Linked DNA regions of Homo sapiens: regions 2 and 3 are each linked to region 1. The links are contacts of gene promoters, found by promoter capture Hi-C in blood cells and fetal thymus (Javierre and others, 2016). All regions are on one chromosome and are shown on one strand. The core of a region is centred on a gene start or on the middle of the fragment in contact, and the rest is flanking DNA. Distances in the headings are between cores, read along the strand shown. Region 1 holds the start of RAD21L1 (RAD21 cohesin complex component like 1). Region 2 holds the start of SIRPB2 (signal regulatory protein beta 2). Region 3 overlaps FAM110A (family with sequence similarity 110 member A).

Region 1 (3,756 bases), core at 123-2,622:
GGCACCAAGGGTGTCTCCCAGACATCCTCTTGAATGGTTGCCGTGACATCATTTCCTGAGGTCGGAAATTGGGAGCTAAACTTCAATTTGAATTCAATTTGAATCCTGTCTCTACAATTCCCAACCACGTGACCCTAGACAGGTTGCTATTTTTTCTCCAGCCCTTTCCTTATTCAAAAGGGGAAAACCAGTAACTACTTTTGTGAGATTGTTTGAAGAGTCAATGAGACAACCCATGAAAATGCCCAGCCAGGAGCCTGAACCTTATCAATAACCTTATATTGGATGCCATTGCCGCTCCAAGATTTATTAGTATTTACTATCAAACTCAAGAGAGGAAACCAGCCTTGCATCCTGATGCTCTTGCAGGATTTTTCTCAGGTTCTAGCACTTGGCCTTGACTACTGAGAACTGTGATATTCCAGGCTGGAAAATATTTGCTGTCCCCAAAGGGCAGGTCAATGTGAATAATCTTTTTAATAATAACAATAATAATAATAGCTAATATTTGTAGAGCACTTATTATTGCTTGGCTCTTTTCATGGTTCATTTTATTTATTTCTTACAATATCCTACGGCGCGAGTACTTTTATTATTTTCACTTTACAGATGAGAAAATCTGAGGTTCAAGGGATTAAAGAATTTCTCCAGTGACCTCCAGCTATAAGTGGAAGAGAAGAGACTGGACTGCATCATAGGGATGTTCAGAGATCAGCCAGAAAGATCACCTTTCACAACAGGACTATGGGGCCCAGGCCCCATCCCTGTCATGCCCCTGCTCAGGTGTCTCAGGTCCGAGCGCCAGGACAAAGCCGGAGACTGCGCACTAGGACCGGTGCGCCTTGCTCACTGTCTGACTCTATCCCTCCTGCCCCGTCCACTGTCCCCACCAACGCCCTGCGCCCTCGTCCCTCTCAGTCCCGGTCCTCTCCACTCTAGCGCACTGCCCTACTCTGTCCGTACCCCCAGCCGCCGCCGCCGCCGCCGCGCCCAGTCCCTCGGTCGCTGGCCCGCCCTTCCCCGCCCCCTGCCCCCGGTCCCTCAGCCACTGCCCCGCCCCGCCCGTCCATACCCCTCCACGCCCCTCCCCATGTCCTGCCCGTCCCTCTCCATCCCCTGCACGCCCCGCCCCTCGCCCACTGCCCCGCCCCATCCCCTGTCAGTCCCGTCCATCGCCCACTGCCCCGCCCCGTCTCCTGCACGCCCCGCCCCGTCCCCTGCACGCCCCGCCCTCGCCCACTGCCCCGCCCCGTCCCCTGCACGCCCCGCCCCTCGCCCACTGCTCCGCCCCGTCCCCTGCACGCCCCGCCCTCGCCCACTGCCCCGCCTTCTCCACGCCCCGCCCCTCCCCGCCCCGCGCCTGCCGCGCATTGCAGACGCCCAGCGGCGCCAAGAACCCGGCCAAGCTGACTTGGCGACTCCTCGCAGCCCCTGCTCTGGCACGCCACACCTCAGACGAGGCTTTGAAAGTAGGGCGCAGCCTGAGAGGCCGGCCGGACCCCGAGTGCTGTAGGCGGGCTGGGAGATGGGGGCCGCCGCCACCCACATTCCCACACGCACCCGGCGCCGGCGCCTCACGCCGTGTTAGCTCGCGGCGCCAAGCCCGGAGGGTCCCGCCTGAGGAAGAAAGGTCGTCGCCCGCAGCCCAGCTGGGGCTGGAGGCGCGACCCGGGGTCTCCTCGCCCGCACGCGGAAGAAAATGGGCGCTGTGGCCTCAGTTTCCCTCTGTGAGCACCCGGCCCGGAACTCTGAGGAGTCGTCTGTGGAGGAGCCTTTGGCGTCCCCCTGCCCCTGAGCGTGGCCGTCAGCTCTTCCCAGCCCCTGCACTTTGCTTTCCCCTCCCTCACGCCCGGAAGGGTCTCGCCCTGCCCGGCTCAGCCCTCTCTCCCCACGCCCCTCTCCCAGGGTCCCCGCCCGGTCCCCTTCCGACCCCTTCCTCCCTCCCTTCGCTCCCTCCCCGCCACCGCCGCCACCCTGCCCTTTGCGGGCCGGTTTCCACGGAGTGGCCCCATCCCGGTGGCTTCACGTTGCACGAAGTCAGTTCAATCTGGAGACTGAAAAAGCCTCCGGGACGTGGGGCGGGAGGGTGCGGGGGGAGTTTGTGTGCGTATTTTGTGGGGAGGGGAAAAAGGTTAGGTAATATGTGCTCGGGAAAATCAATGTCTCAGGAATAGCAAATCTCAGGGTTTGGGTTTTTTCTTTGTTTGTTTTCTCTTTTAAGAAGTCCATCACTTAAAAAGTACATTTGATTTTTTTGAGACGGAGTCGCCCTCTGTCGCCCAGGCTGGAGTGCAGTAGGGCGATCGCGGCTCATTGCAGCCTCCGTCTCCCGGGTTCGAGCGATTCTCCTGCCTCAGCCTCCCAAGTAGCTGGGATTACAGACGCCCGCCACCGTGCCTGGCTACTTTTTGTACTTTTAGTAGAGACGGGGTTTCACCATGTTGGCCAGGCTGGTCTCCAGTTCCTGGCATCAAAGTGATCCGCCCGCCTCAGCCTCCCACAGTGCTGGGATTACAGGCGTGAGCCACTGCGCCAGGCCAAAAAGTACATTTTAAAAGTACCTCACACCACTGGGAGCCATTTAAAAAGATAAATAGGAATTTATTCCGAGAGAGCGAAACACACAGACTAAAAAGGAAAGTAGTGGAACCAGCGCAAGGTACAAGCCATATGCATTAAAATCTCCAGCTGCCCCGTAGGGGAACATGGTTTGGCGGATTGCGTCACCTTTAGTTGGGGCATAATGATTGAATTCTTGCGGTACAAATAGACACTGATGGAAGTTTACCTAAGTTTTTAATTCTTTCGCCGACTTTGTGTTCGTCTTGGCTCAGTTTTCTCTTTTATCAGTATCTTAAGTAGAAAAGAAGCAAAAAGAAGCTTCCATAGTGGCAGTGTAAGATTACTTATATGTAAGCAATAATTTGATTCTTCCCTAGAAGTCAACCAAAGTGCTATAACATCCCTTCTCATCTTTAGCTTAGTGATAGAGCCCTATGGTGTTACCAAGAATAGTACAGTTTGTAAAAATGTGCATTAATTCCTTCTCTTTGTTTTAAGTGAAGGTTTTCTTTTATCGTTCTTATTTCAAAACATTTAAATTTGATTCGTGTTTCTTCCCTTGCCTTCTAATTATTTTCTTATAGTTTCTTGTTTTCTTCATTTTTCCACTTTATGGAATGGAAACTCCACTCCACTCCACTTTTTGGAGTCCCGTGATTTTAACTTCAAAAATTAAAATATTGTTGAATAAACCAGAGTATCTTGAAGAGGGCAATGAAATTCAACACCTGCGTATAAATCAATAATCCAATCCTTCTTAAATTATTAAGTTTTAGAAAAGAGGTGCCCTGTATTAGCTTTTCTTGGTTTTGTCTACCTTTTCCTATTCTTGTTTCTTATTTCCATATCTTATATTTTCAGCCTTCCTCCTTTATTTGACCATGTTAGTAAGAAGAGAACTCAAATCCTTTTTTGGATAAAATAAGTGACATGTATGAAGAAATCATTAATCAGGATGCATTTAAGCCCGGTGTAGAGGTGTAGTTCACAATTTACTAGAGCTTTGTCATTAGGTTATAATTTTATATTCTAAATAAGTTTCTCTTATTTACAAGAGAATAAATTGTATTGAATAATTGAATTAGAACATAATCTGAATGTTATTTTGTAGAATTAATACATATTTTTCTTATAGCAATAAAAAGTTTTTGTAATAAAATTTTAAATTTCTTTTCGTGTTCTCTCTAGTTTGTT
Region 2 (3,785 bases), core at 249-2,748, 270 kb after region 1:
ATAGGAGCAATCAAGCTGGAAGCCAGTGGGTGTGAGCGCAGAGCCTGGGAGCTTATCACTTCACTACGCTGCTTCTTGGGACACTGGGGGTGCCCTCTGCCGGAGTCAGGCAAATTTTCAGTGGACCCCTCTTTACTCTATCTTCATGGGGTCAAGCTTCTTCAGGCATGGCAGAGCACTTAGTGCCCCTCTAGGGACTGACCAGCCGGGGGTGGACCCTGTTCTATCCTAGACCCCACTTACCTGAGGGGACAAGGACCAGTGCCAGCAGCAGGAAGCAGGGAGGCAAGTGGGCCAGGCAGGTGGGGGCCGACATCGTGGAGCACATGGCATCTTCTGTGGTCCCCAAGACTTGGGGCTCCTCTGCTCTCTTGTGAGTGTTGGAGTCTGAGGCGGGGCCCGTGGACAAGGCAGTTTCTGCGTCTCTTGGCCACAGCTGCTTGGGGAAGTGTTTTCATTGCAGCAACACAAGGCTGTTGGTGCAATAGGAAGGAGCCCGGTCAAAGGGTTTCCTGCTTTTGTGTCTGGGCTGTGATTCCTGTAGTCACTGTGCTAAAACCTTGCCATAGGCTCCATCCTAGGTGCCCGGGAGGGAGGTGGGCACTGAGGTCATAGGACGCACTCCAGAATCGGGTGGAATTTGGAGCAAACATTGGATCTTCCTCTTCTTGGCTGTGCAAGATTTCAAAGTCACTTCCCATTTCTGAGCCTTTTGTTTCTTCATCTGCAGCGTAGGAACAACGGCAGTTCCCTCCTCAGAACAGTTTTGGTAAGATTATGAGAAATAATGTGAGGGCACAGAACAATGTAAATGCTAAACATATTAACCATTATTATTCATGATGTGCAGAAAGTAGAGGAGGTGACATTGCTTAAGAAGAAGGATTTATTATAAAGCAAGCCCCATGGGGGCCTCCTTTTAGCACTGCAGGGAGGGTACAGGCCTAATTCCTAAAAGTATAATCATGTGTAACTCTCTCAGCCTCTGTTTCCTGGGGTCCAAGTGAAACATACTCAGATTGTGCAAACATTTGCGTTTGTGGCATCTTTGTTTCCTGTAAGTGATCTGAACTTCCTCAGGAGCCTCCTGGTGCTGGCTATCAAGAAGGAAAAGCTTAATCTTGCCAATTCATGCAATCCAGGCAATCTCTTTAGCCACACTGTCTGGGTTCAAATCTTGGCTTTACTCAGTCTGGCTGTGTGACCTTAGGACAATCATTTGACCACTTTATGCCTCGGTTTCCTCATCTGTAAAACAGGAATAAAAATGTGGTAGCATGTGTGGGGTGGAGTAAGCACTCTATAGGCTTTCACCATTGTCTTTTAGGTTAACTCAGTCTTTTAATTAACTCAGGGAAAAGTACAAGAACAACTCAGCCTTTCATTATTTCACTTCCTCCCTCATGCTTCAGAAGGTTCTGGGTGCAGAGGAAGCTGAAGATTCTCCAGCAACAGGGTGGCAGGCCTTGGATCTGAGTATGTCCCCTGGGTCCCAGAGGTCTGGTGTCTACTATGAGGAGGTTAGTCTGGCCTGGTCCCCAAGGACTTTGCACTGGGTCTGTGACTGGTCTTTTCTAGACTTTTGAGGCCTTGCATTGATACCCCTGCTCAATTCCATTACTCCCTCTACTTGTTCTCCTGTCAATGAGATCTATATAGTGAAACTTCTTTGAAAGGGCCACAAGCCTAGATGATTCCACCAGACCCTCAGTACTTTCCATGTCATTCTTACACGGGAATTTCTGAATCACCTGCTCATCTATGCAGATTTCTTTCTCAGCTATTGTTTTTTTCTAAAGTTTTACTTACAAATAATTTTATTTTAATAGGCAAGGCATTGTATTGGTTAGCTATTGCTGCATAACAAAGCACCCCAAAATTTAGAAGCTTAAAAACTAAATGTTCAGTTAATTTACTATTTTGTGGGTTGACAATTCAGTCAGGGCTCCATTTGGTGGTTCGGTCTTCTCATCTCAGCAGATTTTGGCTGGGAATGTTCATGCACTTGAGGTCAGCTGCAGGTTGGCTAGGTGGCTTTGTTACTGCGGTTGACTGATTGTTAACCCAGGTACCTCAGCTGTCCTCTATGTGGTCTCTCATCTTCCAGGACACTAACTTAGTCTTGTTCTCATGAAAGGGGCAGTTTTGAGAGACAGTGCAAGGTACAAGGAAACTTCTGCCATATTCTTTTGGCCACATCAAGTTACAAGACCAGACAAGATTCAAGGAATGGAAAATAGACTTTGCCTCTTGTTAGGGAACTGCAAAGCCTAATTGCAAAAGGTGTGGATACAAAGAGGGGGTATAGAATTGTGGATATTTTTGTGATTTATCTGCCATGGGCATCTACAGGTACAAAATTCAGAGGTCTCAGTGTCTCATTTATAGGGCTCCCAGACATTACTTTCCTTAGGGTTAACCACAGTCACCAGTTTTTGAAGACATTCATTTCCTTTACTGTTTCTGATCTAGTGCTCAGAAGCCAGGTTGAATATGGTTTCTTTGTGATGTCGTGGACTATGAACACCCTGGGAAGACAGGCCATGATCCCTTATGCTGTAGGAATCCCTAAACTCCATTCCCACCCCACCCCAGCATTTGGACCTCAGGACTGTGGGGTTGGCAGGACTCTAGCATCTCAACCCCTGTCTTCTCCCTCTTTTTCTTACTTCCTCACCAAGTCATAAGGGGAGGAGTTCCCCTTCTTTTCCTTCTGGTAGGGACTTTCCTAATCTCAGTCTTCTTCCTAACAGCTGGCCTTCTTTGTTCTAGATGGAATCCCTCCTGCCCCTTCCTCAAGACAGCAAGTCTCACACTCCAGCTTAGAATAGGAAAAAAGCTTCCAGGGAAGGAATTAAACTGCTGGGAGGTGGAGAAATGCAAAAGGAAATAGTTAAAAATGTTATATCTGTCACGTCATCTATAAAACACATGAAATGCGATTGCGCGTGAAGCACTGGCTTGCGATAATTGCTCAGTAACTAGGAACAGTGGCATTCCTCCTGGTCAGTGTGCTTGGGTATCACATGAACTATAGTGTCTATTACTAGCCTGAGTTAAGTTATCCTCAACAAGAGCACCCGAGGTATATATAGAACACAAGTCTACCCATAAAGCTTTTTTTCCTTCCACTACAAAAATGGAACTTTGTTAAAACAACAGCTTTTTGATTGTTTACCATAAAATGGAAAACATACTAAGCAAGCACAGGGAAAGCGTTCAACCTTAGCAGCAATCAAGTAAATACCAGTCTTAAAAAGAGCAACACTGGTGTCTTTGCAATCAGCATCTATCTCCACTTTTTCTATGCTCTCCTCTTTTTTTGGAGGTTCTAAAAGCCTAAGAACTGCATTTTCTGTAACTCTTTACCATCATTATTCTAGGAGAGAATAATGAACCAAGGAGAGGTTCTTGCTTAGATTTGGAAGGTAAAAGGAGAGGCATGCTTGCTTCTCTAGCCATGAAGAGGGGGCAGATACGTGAGAATTGGTGGATTTAATTTATGCAAATGTGAGGTTTTGCAGTGCTGCCTGTCTTCTATAAATCACCTCTAAAGCACAGGCAGCTGGCATCATTAGCAGCAGTTTCTGTGAGTCTCTCAGATTCCTGATTTTCCAAGAGCTACCAGTGAACTTGAGAGATAAAGCAGTGAGGATTTCCGATGGTCTGTAAACACCAAATGCCACAAGTCCCATGAGAACCAAGCATGGCTTTTTATGACCGAACACAAAAGTCATCCAGCCTCATTTCTTCTCTTTTCATTTAGGAGGAAGCATTTAGTGTCT
Region 3 (3,925 bases), core at 802-3,301, 380 kb before region 1:
GGACAGCACGGGTCTAGATGGCTTGAACTGTAAGCCTTCTTGGGGAACACCCAGATTAAGTACCCGCCCCCTCCATTTTACAGATGAGAATGTTTGGGACTTGGTATGTGGGTTTTCTTCTGTCCCATCTCCAAGGGGCCTTGTGGGGTGACTCTGTGGGCTTGGCCCTTCCTTGGAAACAGGGTCAGGGTTGGCTTGATGTCTGGGGCATCAGGTCCTGACACTTGGGTGACCACGTAGACACTTGTGCATCCAGGTGTATGCCCTCCTCCCAGGTGAGTACCCATTCCATGGCTGCAGGCAGATCGAGGGTCTGCCGGATGCCTCCATGCAGGGCTGTGTGATTTTGGACATTTCCAGCTTCTCTCAGCACAGCATAGCTCAGGGCTGATGTTTCCACGTGACAGGCATTTGTGGATCACCGTGGGCCATCCAGTTCCATGCAGGAAGCTGACGGATGTCTGGACTCCACTGGGGCGCGGGTGGAGATTTTCTTTGCTCCTTCCCTATAAGCTCTGCCCTTTGCCTGGGGCCTGGCATGTCTAGGCGGGTGGATGGCACAGGGCAGCTTCCTGCCTGGATGGGTGAGGGGTAGAGGTGGTACCAGGCTCCCTGTGGGGAGTCCAGGTGGGGTGTGGGGCTGGAGCCCTTTTTCTTGGTCATTTAACCCTACGCCCCGGTGCCAGCACCTTCCTTTTTGGTGGTCAGGGGCAGAGCCACCTACTCGCTGGGTTAACTTAAGCAAGTTGTTTGCCTCTCTGGGCTTCAGTTTCTCCATCCAAAAAACGGGGCTGTTGAGAGGACCTGAGGTTGAGTTGACTGGTGCGTAGCACAGAGCCTGGAGCCTCCCTTGCTCCCTTTAGCGCGTGCCTTGCCCTGTCTTTTCTGCTCAGGTTGCCCAGGTCGCCCAGGTCTTTTTTCTCTAGCACCTTTTTTCCTCTCTTGGTCTCAGCTGGGCCTGGTTCTCCCGGGGCAGGAGGGAGGGGGTGTGGGTGGGGCCTGAGGCCCCGCAGCTGCTGCCTTGTGCCTGCTGATTGGCTCCTTGTGGAGGGGCGTGGTCTCTACCTTATAATAGGGAGGGCGTCTTATCCTCTCAGCCGCGGCTGAGCCTCTTTGTCTGAGCGCGCTCGGCTTTTTTTTTTTTTTCTCTCTCCTTCCCTGCAGCAGTGGCCGGTGTCCAGCTGCCTACTTTCTGCCCGGATCTCTGGCTCCTCATCTCTCCGGTCTCCGCAGACTAAAGCCCTCGGGATATGCAGCAGCCATGCCTGTGCACACGCTGAGCCCCGGAGCCCCGTCCGCCCCCGCCCTACCTTGCCGCCTGCGGACCAGGGTCCCTGGCTACCTGCTACGGGGGCCGGCAGATGGTGGAGCCCGGAAACCGAGCGCTGTGGAGCGCCTGGAGGCCGACAAGGCCAAGTACGTCAAGAGCCTGCACGTGGCCAACACCCGCCAGGAGCCTGTGCAGCCCCTGCTGTCCAAACAGCCGCTCTTTAGCCCTGAGACTCGCCGCACAGTGCTCACGCCCAGCCGCCGAGCCCTGCCTGGCCCCTGCCGACGGCCCCAGCTGGACCTGGACATCCTCAGCAGCCTCATCGACTTGTGTGACAGCCCCGTGTCCCCTGCCGAGGCCAGCCGCACTCCTGGACGGGCCGAGGGAGCCGGCCGTCCTCCCCCAGCCACCCCTCCGCGACCGCCGCCCAGTACCTCTGCGGTCCGCCGGGTGGACGTCCGCCCCCTGCCCGCCTCGCCTGCCCGGCCCTGCCCATCACCCGGCCCTGCCGCCGCCTCCAGCCCAGCCCGGCCGCCGGGTTTGCAACGCTCCAAGTCGGACTTGAGCGAGCGCTTTTCTAGGGCAGCCGCTGATCTCGAGCGCTTTTTTAACTTCTGCGGCCTGGACCCGGAGGAGGCGAGAGGGTTGGGTGTGGCCCACCTGGCACGGGCCAGCTCGGATATCGTGTCCCTGGCAGGGCCCAGTGCTGGGCCGGGCAGCTCTGAAGGGGGCTGCTCCCGCCGCAGCTCGGTGACTGTTGAGGAGCGGGCCCGGGAGCGCGTTCCCTATGGCGTGTCGGTGGTGGAGCGCAATGCCCGCGTGATCAAGTGGTTGTATGGGCTAAGGCAGGCTCGGGAGAGCCCAGCAGCTGAAGGCTAGGCGCCACTGGGCCTGGAATTCGCCACAGGACGGATCTTACAGAGGCAAGTGGTCCCTGGACCTCTCTTGCATCCATTCTCTAGACGGCCGTGTCAGAGGCTCCACCCTGTTGTGAACTTGGTATGGAGGCAAAGGCTTAGAGGCTGGACCAGCATTGTTGGGCAAGGACTGACTCTCCAAGGGTTTTGTTCTTGGCTTTGGACACCTGAGAACCCCCTCCTCCCCTCCCCCAATACAAGGTTTTTGACATGAGTGTACTCCTGCTTAGTTCCTCTTGTGGGGCTGCATTTGCGGTGCTTTGCCCTCCCCACTGTGAGTGAGGGGCCAAGGGATCTCCTCAATCCTGTCTCCCCAGCGGCTCTGTTTCCTCCTTCCTTCCTTGGCCTCTGTCCTTTGCTGACTTCCTCTTCCTTACCCAGCAGAACTCACCCTGGGGTCGGGGCAGTGGGGAGGGGCCTATCCACTGCTCTTCCTAGTCCTTGGCAGCTGGCCTAGGTGGGCAGACTATAGGAGGGACTGGTTAGGAGTCTGCATTGCTTTGACTTCCCTCTCCTTGGTTAATAAACACAAATGCTTGTTTCTCAAGGGCTGGGCCTTCAGACTCTTCTGTGTTCACAAGAGAAAGGGTGAGAGAAGTCTTGGGGTGGGGCCATCAAAACAGTAATTGTTCACCCCGAGGTCTAGTGGTGGGGCATGATGATAGCGGCTGGCCTGGCTGGAGACATGTCCCCGTGGTGGGTTCTCATAACTCTCCTGGAAGGCTAGCAGGCCTGCCTCATCGAGGAGGAAACTGAGATCCAGCCATGAGTGAGCTGGAATAGAGCTGGGAGTAGGAATGGGGTCTTTCCCCTGCACCAGAAAGGGAGCCTGCAGGGGAAAGGCCGATGGGGTGCATAGACTCTCCCCAACCAGGAGTGTTCCATCCAAGCCCTGCCCAGTTCCCAAGGGGGCAGGAAGCTCGGAGAGGGCAAATCCTGAACTTGAGGTCACACAGACCATAGAGTGAGGATGAGAAGTGGGAGTTTTGGAGGAAGAGAGACTTGGGGTGGACGGCACAAAATGAGTGGCCTCCCTGGCGATCTTGGACAAGCCAGTTTCCCTCTGGGCCTCAGTGGGAGAGTTAGGCAGCACAGTCCTCCTTGGGTTGGGGCACTGGTGCATTCTGGGCCCTTCATGCTATATTCCAATACCTGGGGAGAGGGGAAGGAAGGGGCTGGCACTGGGCTTCGAGGCCTCAGCTTCTTCCAGTCTCCCTCCAGGTCAGTTACCTACTAGGACACCCCACCTTGGCTAGTGGAGCAGCTAGGGCTAGAGCTGGGCCTACAAAGGGCGAAAGCGGGGGTGGCCTCTCTGGTGCCCCACGGTGGGCGTGGAGAGGGGGTGGGTGGCGCTTCCTTTCACAGGCTGCCTTGGCTGCAGCACTCAGAAACAGGAAGCTCTAATGGGGGCCCTGGTGACAGGTTTGATGTAGGTTTTATTTTAAGCATAAAGAGGAGATTTCCGTTGGACTGTTGACAAACATCCACATCAGCCCAGCTGTCCATCTCTCTGTCTGTCTGCCTGTCTACAACTAGCCCCCAGGGGCCTGGGATGGGCCTGGGCAGTTTGGGGAAGGAAGGGAAAATTGGGTTCTAGAAGAAGATGGTGTTCCAGCTCATGAGACTGGAGCTCATGATACTGGTGGGGAGACAAGCATGAGGAGGGTGGTGACCTACCCACAACCCCCCATGGTGCCCAGCAGTTTTGACAATGCAGGAGCTGGGCCTCCAGGGTCCC

What was found. Contacts are between HindIII fragments. The CHiCAGO score rates a contact against its expected background, and 5 or more counts as called.
Region 2: a contact is called between a fragment that was not itself captured here and the fragment with the promoter of RAD21L1 in region 1, in 1 of 17 cell types (endothelial precursors). The highest score is 7.3, in endothelial precursors.
Region 3: a fragment that was not itself captured here is called in contact with the fragment with the promoter of RAD21L1 in region 1 in 1 of 17 cell types (naive CD4 T cells); the score reaches 5.5 in naive CD4 T cells.

The regions. Positions count from the first base shown.
Region 1 is chr20:1,224,672-1,228,427 of GRCh38, forward strand. RAD21L1 (RAD21 cohesin complex component like 1) reads left to right here and starts at 1,373. Exons shown (of 14, transcript NM_001384355.1): 1 at 1,373-1,469; 2 at 3,751-3,756. RefSeq lists a silencer at 1,585-1,634. The HindIII fragment of the contact is 7,037 bases long and covers 1-2,878 here.
Region 2 is chr20:1,491,032-1,494,816 of GRCh38, forward strand. SIRPB2 (signal regulatory protein beta 2) reads right to left here and starts at 389. Exons shown (of 5, transcript NM_001122962.2): 1 at 244-389. The coding sequence starts at 328. The HindIII fragment of the contact is 773 bases long and covers 1,113-1,885 here.
Region 3 is chr20:843,544-847,468 of GRCh38, forward strand. FAM110A (family with sequence similarity 110 member A) reads left to right here. Exons shown (of 2, transcript NM_001042353.3): 2 at 1,165-2,734. The coding sequence starts at 1,262. The coding sequence ends at 2,149. Among named protein-coding and RNA genes, the nearest start is that of FAM110A, 12 kb to the left of the region's middle. RefSeq lists enhancers at 754-853, 959-1,772, 3,001-3,060. The HindIII fragment of the contact is 8,097 bases long and covers 1-3,925 here.